Linked DNA regions of Homo sapiens: region 1 is linked to region 2. Evidence: promoter capture Hi-C in 16 types of primary human blood cells and fetal thymus (Javierre and others, 2016). All regions are on one chromosome and are shown on one strand. The core of a region is centred on a gene start or on the middle of the fragment in contact, and the rest is flanking DNA. Distances in the headings are between cores, read along the strand shown.

The links. The method cuts DNA at HindIII sites, captures the fragments that hold promoters and counts their contacts. A CHiCAGO score of 5 or more calls a contact.
Region 1: a fragment that was not itself captured here is called in contact with the fragment with the promoter of CCT8 in region 2 in 1 of 17 cell types (naive CD4 T cells); the score reaches 8.2 in naive CD4 T cells.

What each region holds. Positions count from the first base shown.
Region 1 is chr21:31,134,346-31,138,443 of GRCh38, forward strand. TIAM1 (TIAM Rac1 associated GEF 1) reads right to left here. Exons shown (of 28, transcript NM_001353694.2): 23 at 1,588-1,696. Among named protein-coding and RNA genes, the nearest start is that of KRTAP19-8, 98 kb to the left of the region's middle. RefSeq lists an enhancer at 2,722-2,771. The HindIII fragment of the contact is 1,924 bases long and covers 1,719-3,642 here.
Region 2 is chr21:29,072,063-29,075,721 of GRCh38, forward strand. CCT8 (chaperonin containing TCP1 subunit 8) reads right to left here and starts at 1,586. Exons shown (of 15, transcript NM_006585.4): 1 at 1,469-1,586. The coding sequence starts at 1,528. RefSeq lists enhancers at 658-1,569, 1,022-1,191, 1,570-2,481, 1,642-1,811, 3,358-3,659. The HindIII fragment of the contact is 10,437 bases long and covers 1-3,659 here.

The DNA of each region.
Region 1 (4,098 bases), core at 1,431-3,930, 2.1 Mb after region 2:
ATCACTATAGAAGAAACACAAGTGGTGATGTTGAAAAGAAAGCAAATACTACTTCCCCCCTCCCCCAAAACACCTACCCCATCAAAAACTAACAACTTGTTAAAATACCCCCAATATTCCTTTGAATGGCCTATTTAGTCACATGCTTTCTCTGCACTTACATTTGTTTTGTTTTGTTTTTTTGAGACAGAGTCTTGCTCTGTCACCCAGGCTGGAGTCCAGTGGAACGATCTCAGCTCACTACAACCTCTGCCTCCAGGGTTCAAGCGATTCTCCTGCCTTAGCCTCCCAAGTAGCTGGGATTACAGGCACCTGCCACCACATCCAGCTAATTTTTGTATTTTTAGTAAGGACGGGGTTTCACCATATTAGCCAGGCTAGTCTTGAACTCCTGACCTCAAGTGATCCGTCCACCTTGGCCTCCCAAAGTGCTGGGATTACAGGTGTGAGCCACCACACCTGGCCTCCTTTGTTATTTTTAATGAAATGACCTCAACAGCTACAGGGGCTCTTTGGAAATTTTGGGAATATTAGTAACTTTTCAATGAAGGCTAAGTCATTGAAATACAAAGTCCAATGGATCTTTGCATTAAATACTTTGATTTTAAAATCACTAGGACATTCCATTTGGGGATACTTTGTTCACATCATGGAGGAAAAAAAAAAGTTTAGTTAAGAAGGAGAAAGCAACCTCCGTTCCCAGCAAGCCCACAAAAATAATATAAGGCAAGAGAATAAGGCAGATTTCCATTATATTATGTTCCTACCCATGAGTCTTTTAGCAAGAGGCTAGGACAAAACGCAACCTAAAACAAAAGCATGGAGTGTTGATAGTTTTATATTCATGAACAACACAGCAATATGCCAATAAGCATTTACATTGCAACAACAAGCTATGTTTCCTAAATTATATGCTAACCCATGTTTTTTCTCTCTCTCAAAAAGCATATTACAATACAATCACATGAGATCTCTAATTGCAGCAACTGCATCCATCTAAACTGGTTTATTAAAAAATAAGTCATTCGCAAACATCTCTAATTTCACTAGTATTGAGTGGCAATGCGATTGGGATGCACCTCACAGCTGATCCAGGCACTCCAGAGTTGCCACAACAGCTCAGCTGAGAACCAGCATCCTAAATCCTGGCCTTAAGACCAAACAGCAACAAAGTCAGGAAGCAAATAAAAGATCTAGGACTGGGGGGTCTCAGAAACAGAGGCCATTTTGTCTTGATTTTTCACTTTATTTTTCCTTGGTTTATAATTAACCCATTATTTTGAAAAGACACGCAGAGCAGCAGCCAAAAAAAAAAAAATTCTTTTCCTGCCTCTGTGTTTATGTCTGGGATAGACTTGGGCACAGCCATTTCCGCCCACCCATGTGGCTGAGTGACCACATAGGGCAATTTAACTCGAAGGTTTCATTTAGTGTTTGTGAGATGTTGGTGGCTACGGCAGGAAGACCGATTCAAGTAACTGCAATTAACTTTATTTTTAATCAATTGGGTCTTGAAAAAGAAATGTTCTTGTTTTGAAAACTAAGCTAGACTTTTCCCCCTCCATAAAACGCTTTTCTGATACACACCGAATGCTGCCAACTCTGGTTCCTTTTTCCACTTGCCCAGCGAGGCCGGCGGGTTCAGCCAGATCACGGTAGTGTGCAAAAGCAGGTCTCCCATGCTCAGATCTGCAACCTGAAAGCCAGAGACGTGACAAAGCTTACTGGGTGGTGTTATCAATACTCAGATTTTCATGATGTTTGAAAATTCAGCATGCTGATATTAATTTTACTTCAAGAAAATACTGCTCCTAAAAACATTTGCTTAAATATGTGAGATAATGCTAAGTTAAACTGCTGGATTTAGCCATTCCACAATGTAACATATCAAAACATCATGTTGTACACCATAAATATATAAAATTTTTACTTGTCAATTTCATGTTTTTGAGAAAAGAAATCGCACCAAAATGACAGACTACATTTTTTAAAAATATTTTCGATTTGTGACTGTCTCAATAAACACCACCTCCCATCAAAACAGGCTGAAGATACAATATCCAGTTAACCTTTCCAATGGGAAATAATAGTATCATTATGTTCTAGCCAAGTTTGAGCTAGGAACAATACAATGAAATTTTAACGAAAAAAAAAATCCTTTAATTCATATGAAATCTCCTAATTGAAAAATAAATCCTCTCCATTCCCAAAGAAACACATGGAATACAGGGGAGAGAAAAGGCTCATCTTTTTTTTCCCCATTTATTCCATGCTTGTCTACTAGAATTTCAGAAAAGGATGGCAAATAGGTACAAACTGGGGCTCTGAAATTCACATGCAGTTAGTCTGTCAAAACTGATCTACAAAACTGGAGATGTTTTGTGTTCAGAGACAGTTTCCCAAGGAGATGCTAATGGCCGTCCATGACAAAGATCCACCCCCAGATAACTGCAGACATTTCCACCAGTGAATATCCACTTTTGGGAAATGTAGGCAAATTATTTCTTCTTCCAATCCATTTCAAAGACGACTTTATTTCACTTTAGATGAGGGAGAGAGAAGCCAATAAAGAGTTTGAAGATTCCTCTATTGGCACAGGCAGCGTGAATGCTGGAATCCCAAGAGACCATGAGGTTTAGTCGCTCACCCCCAGCGGTCACACGCTAAACTGTCTCCGACAGACAAGTGCTGGTTGCAGAGCCATCTAGACACGATGATCCAGAGAGTCTGATGCAAGTTCAACGTCTATGCCTCACAACAGTCCCGTCTGCTTTTCTCACTGCAGTCACTGGCCTCCTTCCAAATCTAGCTGGGTTTCCTATACAGCAGCAACCTGGCGACCCGCCACTGAACACAGTGCAGTTTGGATTGCCCTTCTCGAGCCACCAAAACAGGCTACCGTGCTGAGATGTGGCTCCAGCAGTACAGGATACAGAGGTATTGTTGCCTCCCTTGATTGAAATTATTATAATCATCACTGTCATTATTACTAAGCTATAGTACCATTAGTACAATCAAGGGTTAAAATAATTTTTAAGCAGCCATATTATTTTGTCTATAGATATTAAGTAACTCATCAACCAAACCCCCAGGATATGATCAGCCAAGGTAATGACATAGTCTCCACTACCTATCCCCCGAAGACCCACATAGAAGAGGAGGAGTTACATACAAAAGACAAATTCCCAGAGGCCACAGCCCCTGGGAGTACGTCTTTAAAAGTGATTAAAGGCCAACATGGTAGACTGTCCAAACTCTACTTCTTCCAACAGAATTACATTATCTGCACCTTCTGCCATGTGATTTTCCAGCACCTCCCACTAGACTAGGCAGGGTACACACATCGCCGCCCGGATGACTTTGGGTGTAGGCATGTGACTTAGAGCCCACCTTCCAGCCATGGGAAGGACTTGCCCAAGACAGCCATTGCTGCTTCAGCCTGGATCCTGGAAGGAAGAGACAAGGAGCACACCAGAACCTTCAGAACTGGAGCTAACCAAGAGAAACCAAACCTTGGTTGACCTACAAAGCCACATACGAGATAAATATCTGTTGTAGAGAACCACTGAGATTTCCAGTTATTTGTTACACAACTGAAAATGGGCTGATGCTGTTCCTGTGCACAGGGTTTTTCTCTGGACAAGCTTCCCAGGGCAAGTGGACTAGGGGGTCAGGGTGCTCCCTCTGGCCACAGCCTCTCTCTGGGGCTTCCACTGGTTCCCTTCTGAATCCTCCTCCCAAACCCCAAGAAAGAGTTCTGCTGGGAGGCCTCCACCTTACTAAGGACTGGGATGCCCGACTGAGTCAGCATTTTTAAGGACTTCTTTTAAGGGGAAATGCCCTCTTGCATTCTTCTTCCTCCTAGTTAAGCAAAAGGGATTTCTTAGCCTAACTCCCCAGAGTTTAACATGGGGGTAGGAGGTTGAAGGCCCAGTTTCATCAAAAAGCTGTTTCTTTGCCAGCTTTGTTCTCTGTGAACCTATTTGCCTTCAGAGATATCTTAAGGAATGTTGGTTGAAGACCCAATTCAGGTACCTTGTGTTCCTAGAATGTTACCATTTTACAATAAACCTGCTGTTACCAGCAGATACTGATAAA
Region 2 (3,659 bases), core at 336-2,835:
GTCCCTGAGCCTGGCATTTCCCCCTAAGTAAGAGGTCGGGGGAAACAGCCCAGGCTCAGGGGCTTCTCTCACTAAGCACTGAGCTAAGAGTTCTTCCCTAAACGTCTAAGTGTTCTGTCTATTCCTGATCCTTCTTTTACAGACATTTTTACCTCCTGTCATCCTCTACTATAGTGCAGTTTCTTTCATCATTATTTGGAATTCTCCTTTTATTTAATCATTATTTCTGCCTTAGAAGGACATAAACTCTACGACAAATGGGACTTTTGTCTTTCACTGCAGTTCCTTCAGTACCTATTTATTGAAAGAAATAGCTCAGTGTTCTGTAAAAAACTACTAGCACTGGAATGACAAATAATGTTTTGTGATACACGAGTTTTCCAAAACTGTATTAGTGAAAAAAACCCAAATTGGAAGCTATTATCTCAGCCTGATTTTTTCAAGGGAATCAGCCCATATCATTTTCAAAAGATTATTCCACCAACATTTACCTTGAACCCTGACATTTACTTACTATACCGACATTATTTGAAAAGTGCATCCTACAAACATGAACCTAGTTCTATTAAACTGTTAATGCTCCCCGTACCTCGCATAAAACCTTAAATTCAACCACACTGATCTATTTCTTGAATTAACAAAATCTGGAGGACACACAGAGGAATGCAATTTGAATAGCACAAGAGACAAATTTATCAATAGTGCAGTAAGATATTTTTTAAAACTATGCTACCGAACTAACGTTCAAGAAAAGGCCATTAAACAAAAGTGTTATCTGCACCCCTCTATCACTTATCCTGCAGATTACACAGAACTCAAAGACACCACCTCTTGGTCCAATCTCCATAATTTAAAGACGAAGGAAACAAAACCCAAGAAAGTTACATTTTAGATTAAGCCAGCTAACATAAGTTGGGACCGGAACTCATTTGGCTACAACGCATGGCTTCTGTCAACTAAGCTGAAAGCCGTATGTTTCTCACTGGGAAGCAAGCAACCAAGACCCGGCCCTTTTTCCCACTCTCTTCTCTGGATCGGCTAGTTCTCGTTCTTCCCCATCCTACAACTCGCGAGCTATGTGATAATCGACGTCGCAGTTCTCAAGACAATTTCATCTACGTTATTCAATTTCACCCTCACAACCTCCTTTAAGGGTGACGGGCCTTAGCCCCATTTACGGATGGAGGCAAAACGCACGCGCGGCTTCACATCCGTCCACCTTCAAGGTGTACAATGTCGATCGTGCCGCCGATCCCTCGGCCTTCTCCCGGTCGCGGAAGAAGAGAAGTGCCCGCAGGCTCCGGTGGCCGAGCCCTTCCAAAATCACCTCCCTTTCTGGAATCTTCTCTTCCCCCGGCCGCTGAGCCAGGGCAGCACGCTCAGCCCGTTAGTAGGCCCTCCTACTTCGCCGCGGCCGCCGCAGCCCTATGCTGACGCTCCCACCTCATTCCTTTCCTTCAGCCCTTACTTTCGCTCCCTCCTTGAGCATCTGGGCAAAGCCCGGAGCCTTGGGAACGTGAAGCGCCATGGCCAGCCTGCAGGAAGCAGTTCACGCGACCGCTCGGAAGACCGCGGAGGAAGCGAGGAGCACGCACAGCCTTCTGGGAAAGCAGCGTGGGGCCGCCTCACGCTCTTCCTGGCTCTCCAATTAGCCCACCCTTTCCCTGCCGCCAGGTCTGAAGCATCGCGAGAAGAGCAACCTCTGTGGCCAGAACCAAGCTGACGATCCCCGATCGGGTCGATCGATAGGGCGGGCCCAGGGAGCCCCTCGGGTTTCTGGCTCACGCACGCGCAGACAGCCCAGGCCGTGAGAGGTTGCTCCAGTCTGTGCTCTCTGACCGTAGTCAGTAGTCACGGCGTTAGATTTTTGCGGTTTTTGATCTGGAAGCCACACATCCTTAGCTTAATTTCCACGTATCTTCCAGACCCAGCCACCAACGTCAGGGCAGGTGTGCTTTTTTTTTCCCGAGGCAGAGCATCTGCCCCATCCCCCAAAATTGTCTCTAGGCGTCCGCTCTGTGTTGGGCACCATAGGAAGCGCTGGGAATGCGCACGATAATTAAAGTCGTCACTAAGAGTAATGTAGTACACATCAAGTGCTCAAGTGTGCCATATTCTGTGTGATCTGCTTTACATGCAGTATCTCTGTTAATGGTCAGTCTTAAAAATTAATGAATTGTCGGTTAAAATACCATTTAGTTTTCCTTCCATAAAATGGAGACGATACCATTAAAAATTAAAAATTAAATGGTACTGTCTCTATTTTGTAGAAGGGAAACTGAAGTTCACAAACTGTAAATAATTTTCCCAAGATCACAGAGCTAGTAAATATTAAAGCTAGAATTCCTATCTAGATCAGACTTATTGCAAAATGCCGGTTCTTAACCACTATCTATATTCCTCTTTTCTACTTCTTCCTGGGAATATAAATCCCTTTTACTCTTTTAAGATCAGATATAAATACATATTTATTTATCTGATTTATATATATAATATACACATTTTATATAAATATATCTGATTTATATATGAATTTATAGATAAATATAAATCCCTTTGGCTTGGTGGCATGCACCTGTAGTCTCAGCTGCTTGGGAGGCTAAGGTTGGAGGATCTGCTTGAGCCTGGGAGGTTGAGGCAGCAGTGAGCTGAGATCATGCCACTGCACTCCAGCCTGGGCAAGAGTGAGGCCCTGTCTCAAAAAAAAAAAAAAATTGCAAAAATGTAAATGCCACTGATATGGTTTGGATTTTTGCAAAAATGTAAATGCCACTGATATGTTTGAATTGCCTGCCCAAATATGATGTGGAATTATAATCCCCAGCTGTTCTTGTGATAGTGAGTGACTTCTCATAAGACCTGGTTGTTTAAAAGTGTGTGGCACCTCCCCACTCTGTCTCTTCCTCCTCCTCCAGCCTTGTAGGATGTGTCTGCTTCCCCTTCACCTTCCACCTTGATTGTCAGCTTCCTGAGGCTTCCCCAGCCATGCTTCCTGTACCGCCTGTGGAACTGTGAGCCAATTAAACCTCTTTTCTTTATAAATTACCCAGTCTCAGGTAGTTCTTTATAGCGATTCGAGAACGGACTAATACAGCCACCCTTTTCATTCTTGGAAAATAGAGATATTTTAAATAAAAACATACATATTATCATGTGATAGGATTATTATTTTTTAAATAACGTTAAAAATTTATCAGTTTTAATTTCTAATATAGCAAATATTCATACCTATAACCCACATAAACAAAAGACCTTTGGGGAAGTTAATTTTTAAGAGTCTAAAGGTGTTCTGAGACTGATACGTTAGAGAACTACTGTAATGATCAGTCCCGAACAACAGAACAATCCAAGATTTTTCCTGGATTAGCTAAGAAATAAACAAAAGCACATTCCTCTGACTCAGAGATAATATTACTTATAAAAATAGCTAACACAAAATAAAATTGAAATAAAACTGAAAGGAGCTAAAATGACACCTGATTAACATATTAATATATATTAATCTATATTTAAAGTGACTTTGAGGCCTAGGTTCTGGTCCTTGTCTCACTGGTATCTTCTCCATTTGGCATTAATGTCTTGTATTCTGGCCCCAGTACCTGGAATAGTTCGTGCTGTCTGCTTTACCACTTCTGCCTCAGGGTCTTTGCCTCTGCTGT